Linked DNA regions of Homo sapiens: region 1 is linked to region 2. Evidence: promoter capture Hi-C in 16 types of primary human blood cells and fetal thymus (Javierre and others, 2016). All regions are on one chromosome and are shown on one strand. The core of a region is centred on a gene start or on the middle of the fragment in contact, and the rest is flanking DNA. Distances in the headings are between cores, read along the strand shown. Region 1 overlaps LOC107986858 (a long non-coding RNA gene). Region 2 holds the start of ASIC3 (acid sensing ion channel subunit 3).

The links. The method cuts DNA at HindIII sites, captures the fragments that hold promoters and counts their contacts. A CHiCAGO score of 5 or more calls a contact.
Region 1: a fragment that was not itself captured here is called in contact with the fragment with the promoter of ASIC3 in region 2 in 1 of 17 cell types (total CD4 T cells); the score reaches 7.0 in total CD4 T cells.

What each region holds. Positions count from the first base shown.
Region 1 is chr7:150,343,907-150,346,606 of GRCh38, forward strand. The region is part of intron 2 of LOC107986858 (a long non-coding RNA gene); the gene reads left to right. Among named protein-coding and RNA genes, the nearest start is that of RARRES2, 3.6 kb to the left of the region's middle. The HindIII fragment of the contact is 2,219 bases long and covers 155-2,373 here.
Region 2 is chr7:151,047,151-151,049,850 of GRCh38, forward strand. ASIC3 (acid sensing ion channel subunit 3) reads left to right here and starts at 1,381. Exons shown (of 11, transcript NM_004769.4): 1 at 1,381-2,269. The coding sequence starts at 1,736. It overlaps ABCB8 (ATP binding cassette subfamily B member 8), which reads left to right. Exons shown (of 16, transcript NM_007188.5): 16 at 1-632. The HindIII fragment of the contact is 11,911 bases long and covers 396-2,700 here.

The DNA of each region.
Region 1 (2,700 bases), core at 14-2,513, 700 kb before region 2:
TGAAAGGACTACTTAGGGCATATTCATGAGCTCAGCTCCAGGTAACATGTCCCAGTCCAGGGGAGCAACAACAGGACTTCACTATTTAATGATGGTTAATGATCTTCCTGGTCATGACAGCTAAAAAAGTAGACTCACGTATCCAGTTGTTCCAAGCTTAGTTTTCCAATAACTGAACTGAGTACCAAAAAACATTGTCCTTTAATATTTGCAACCACATTGACAAAAATAGTTTTTTTTAGAAGAAGTGATTTGACTTTGAAGTAAGAGCATATCAGTTGCAAAACTACACCTATTGAAGTTAAGTACATTTTCCAACTTGTGTCAATTCGGTACCATTAGCATAAATTCAAAAATGATATTGCATAAATTCAAAAGCCATTCTAAATTTATCAATATCAACTAAGAATTCTTCACATTTTTCTTGAAATTTTGCCAATTTACACAATGCTGTATATTACAATTAAAACCTCTGTATGTTGATTCTTGTGACAAAAGTATGTAGATTGTAATTATTTGTCAGTATTATGAAAATATTTAATTTGAAATGCTTATATTTATCTGGCTAGGTCACAAATGAGGTTTCATCTCCTTGGATATTCAAATTTAGCCCATTTATATGTAGTGTGGTATTGGTGAGAAAACACTGACTTTTTTATTTTTAATTATTGAATATTTGGGTTGAGAGTAGTGACTCATGCCTGTAATCCTAGCACTTTGGGAGTCCAAGGTGGGTGGATCACTGAACCCAGGAGTTCAAGACCAGCCTGGGCAATATAGAGAGAGGCTATCTTTACAAAAAAAAAAAAGTTTAATTAGCTGAGTGTGGTGGCAAAAGTCTGTAGTCCTGGCTACTCAGGAGGCTGGCGGGGGACGATCACTTGAGCCTGGGAAGTCAAGGTTGCAGTGAGCTATGATCATGCCACTACATGACCCTCCCACCTCAGCCTCCCAAAGTGTTGGGATTATAGGCTCAAGCCACCACTCTCAGACTTGGCCACAGAGCAAAACCTTGTCCCCAAAACAAATAATAATAATACTTATTGTTGTATATTTGGTAATCATGGCTTCTGTCTCAAGAAAATCTTGGAGTTAGTTAAAAGTACAGTAAATCTTAGGAGAACTCTTCTACAACCCTGACAATGAGCTTTGGTAAAGAAAAGATCATTAAATTCATTATCTTTCATTGCTTTCAACAGTTCCATAAAACCAGCAGTGATTCATAGCATTTCCACTTAAATACGGAATTAGTTTTAATGGCTGTAGCCATGAGACTTGCATAGAATAAATTTCAGAAAACTGAGCACAAATATCTTCAATATGTACCCTAAAGTGAAATGAAGCAACATTGGAAGCATCAATCTCTTGTTTTAGCATTCCAATAAATACCTCAGTCACACCAGCCACATGGCAAGTGTTCCTAAACCTGTGGCTGGTGGCTACCATATTGGATATTGCAGGCAGAGCATGTGTTACCAATTATGTGAGTAAAAACTAAAACTAAAAATGAACAAATTTTTGTGTTTGTAAATGCATGGAATATTTCTAGAAGGGAAAAACAAGAAACTTATAACAGTGTTTGCCTGTGAGGAGAGGATCTGTCCAGCTGGGGAAAACAGAGGCAGGAAAACTGTACTCCCTTTGTACTTTTAAATTTTTATAACTTGTGGATAATTTGTCTATTAAAATATAAAAAAACTTTAAAAACTATTTTTTGAGACAGGGTCTTGCTCTGTCGTTCAAGCTGGAGAGCAGTGGCTCAATCATGGCTCACTGCAGCCTCAACCTCCTGTGCTCAAGCGATCCTCCCACCTCAGCCTCCCAAGTAGCTTGGACCACAGGTGCATGCCATCATCCTAGGCTAATTTTTGTATTTTTTTCTAGAGACAGGATTTTGTCACATTGCCCAGGCTGATCTCAAACTTCTAGGTTCAGCAATCCACCCACCTTGGACTCTCAAAGTGCTGAAATTACAGGCTTGAGCCACTGTGCTTGGCCTTAATACTTTTAAAATCAGAAAGCAAAGCAACAGCTTTTCTTTTGTCTTCTTTTCTTTTCTCTTTTTTTGAGACAAAGTCTTATTCTGTTGCCCAGGCTGGAGTGCAATGGCATAATCAGAGCTCACTGCAGCCTCCATGTTCTAGGCTCTATTGATCTTCCTGCCTCAGCCTCCCAGTAGCTAGAACTACAGGACCACCTCACCCAGCTAGTTTTTATTATTATTATTTTTTTTTTCAGGAGAGAGGAGGTTTTGTTTTGTTGCCCAGGCTGGTCTTGAACTTCTGAGCTCAAGTGATCCTCCTACCTTACCTTTCCAAACTGCTGAGATTACAGGTGTGAGCCACCGCGCCTGGTCCCAATAGCATTTCTGAAAGCTTACTCTGGCTGCTGTGTGGAGAGTGGATAAAAGGGAATAAATCTCAGCAGGAGATAATTGTGATTGTCCGGGTGAGAGACGAATGTGGCAGGGACAAAACTGGAGGCAGTGAAGATGGGAAAACAAAGTCCAGAAATACCTCAGGACTAAAGCACCAGGGTTTGGTGATTGATAAGATGTTGGGGTCGAGGTCAACAGAGAGGGGTGAATCCCAGGTTTCTGGCTTGAACAGCTGTAGACATGGTTTTGATCCTCAGGGAGAGAGAGACTCAGGAGGGCAGTGAGGAGAGAAGTGTGAGGTGTCTGTGGAACATGCCAGTGGA
Region 2 (2,700 bases), core at 131-2,630:
CAAAATGCCTCTGACACCAGATTTATATCTTCTGGGCGGCTTCTTTAAATCCAGCCCTTCACCCGCCCCCTAGAGAAGCAGTGAAACCCCTTGGCTAGTCCAGCTGGAAGAGCTAGACCGCAGGAGCCGCGCCGTCTTCCTAACCTCGCCTCGGCCTTCGCTCCACAGTGGAGAGTGGGAGCCTAGCTGTGCTTGATGCTGAATGCCTGTTTTGAGAGTGTGAGTGGGATCATCTACAGTAAATACTTGCAAAGCATGGCACTGTGGCTCTGGGGAGCTGGTACGCCTGTGCTGTAACCATGGTACTCAGTCCTTCCAAAGTGTTTATTAATCAAGCACCTGTCATGTGCCATTGAGCCCACGATGGGGAATGAGGACAGTCCCTGCCCCCATGAAGCTTGTGTCCTGTTGGGAGGACAGACAGGTGGCCCAGCAGTTGCAGCATGGTGTGTGCACACGTTTGGCTGGTGGAACCATGTTTCTACCACTCATGGTCAAAAAAAGCCCACCAAAGTCCTGGGAGTTCACATCTGTGTGATGATACGGCAACATTGTTTGTAATGGAAAGACTGGACACCCCCAGTGCCCATCAGTGGGGGAGTCATTAAATAAACTATGGTATGTGCACATAATGGGTGGTATGCAGCCCTTTGGAAAAATGTAGGTTTTCCAGGTCCTGGATATAGCAGCGTAAGATGGGAAATCACAGAATACCCATGTTGTGCCTGAGATGGCAGGTGGGGTACCCGTGGTACCCGGGAGGGTGGCAGGTGGGGCACCCATGTTCTACCTGGGGTGGCAGGTGAGCCCATAACCATTGTAGAGGCCAACATCCTCAGAGGCCTGAGTGTGGGGAGGTAGGCTTTGACTCCCTAGGGAGAGAGGGACACTTAGGAAACAGACGGGCCCTGGAAGTGGGACATGAAGAGTGCCCTGGCCATCCAGTGTAGGCTGAGATGCTAGGGGCACAGAAAGAAGAGATCTGCTGATGCCAGCCTTCCAACCATTTCCCAGCTTGGCCAAGAGCCAGCTCTGGTATTCGTGAAGGAACAGATCCTGGGTGAAGCTAGAGGGAAGGCCGCAGAGGCAAAAGGAGAGAGGAGCTAGGCCAGGGGTCAGCGACTGACCCTCGCGGCCAGTGTACAGGGGTTGCAACTGGGAGCCTAGGGGGCCCCAAGGCATCTCCAGGCCCAATCTACCTCTGGGCTTTTCTCAAGCTCTCCCTAGGATTACTGCGGTTTCCTCCTGGCGCCTCTCGTCTTGGACAGCCATGCCCCCCTCCATGCTGCACTAATGGCTCAGCCTGGGGCCCTAGGGACCTCTCCTACCCCCCAGACTGCTCTGTCGGCCCCCTTTCCCCCCTACTGCTGAAACCCAATCCTCTGCAGCAGCGCCGGCTCAGCACCGCCGGCTCAGCACCGCTCCGCAGCCCCTGCCTGCCACGGTCAGCTACGTCCCACCTGGTCTGCTGCGGAGTCCCCAGCCCAGTGCCTAGCCCAGTGGAGCCACCGCCTGTTCCTCGGGAAGGAACAGTGGGACCTGACCGGCCAGATCACCTCCTCCAATCCTGCCAGGCTAGTGCCTCCCTGCCTTCCAACCTTGGCTGTCTCCCACCCTCTCTTCTCCTCTCCTTGCCTGGCCTCCTGAATCCTATCTTAGCCTCCTTAGCCCCCTGACTGACTCTCTCTCGCTTCTTCCAAGCCTCTGTAGCTGGTTCCGCTCCTGGGTTCTGGCCATGAAGCCCACCTCAGGCCCAGAGGAGGCCCGGCGGCCAGCCTCGGACATCCGCGTGTTCGCCAGCAACTGCTCGATGCACGGGCTGGGCCACGTCTTCGGGCCAGGCAGCCTGAGCCTGCGCCGGGGGATGTGGGCAGCGGCCGTGGTCCTGTCAGTGGCCACCTTCCTCTACCAGGTGGCTGAGAGGGTGCGCTACTACAGGGAGTTCCACCACCAGACTGCCCTGGATGAGCGAGAAAGCCACCGGCTCATCTTCCCGGCTGTCACCCTGTGCAACATCAACCCACTGCGCCGCTCGCGCCTAACGCCCAACGACCTGCACTGGGCTGGGTCTGCGCTGCTGGGCCTGGATCCCGCAGAGCACGCCGCCTTCCTGCGCGCCCTGGGCCGGCCCCCTGCACCGCCCGGCTTCATGCCCAGTCCCACCTTTGACATGGCGCAACTCTATGCCCGTGCTGGGCACTCCCTGGATGACATGCTGCTGGACTGTCGCTTCCGTGGCCAACCTTGTGGGCCTGAGAACTTCACCACGGTGAGCTGACCTCCCTACCTATCCTGCCAGGGACCCAGAGAGCCGACCAGTCCCTGCCCAGCACCCACAATTCCCTAGCCAGCACAGGCTCCCCCAAAGCCAGGGGACCTCTTCCTTCCTACCAGCCATGGACTCCCCACCCCCCAGTGCCACTCCGTGCAGCCCAGGAAGCTGTCCTCCTTGGGGCTTTCTCTGTCTCCCAGCCCGAGGGGAGCATGTGAGGCCACACTGACCCCGGCTGGCCCTAGGCCTGAGGTCTGGCCCAGGGAGGCCCTGCTCCTGGGGCTGGGGGTCCTCCATGGTGGGACCATTCTGGGGCAGAAGACCCCTATCTCTGCCAGGAGGTGGGGGGGGCTTGCTTTCCCTCTGCCTTTTCAACATACTGCCAGCCCCGGAGGACAGCCACAGGGGCCCATTTCCTTTTCCTGCAG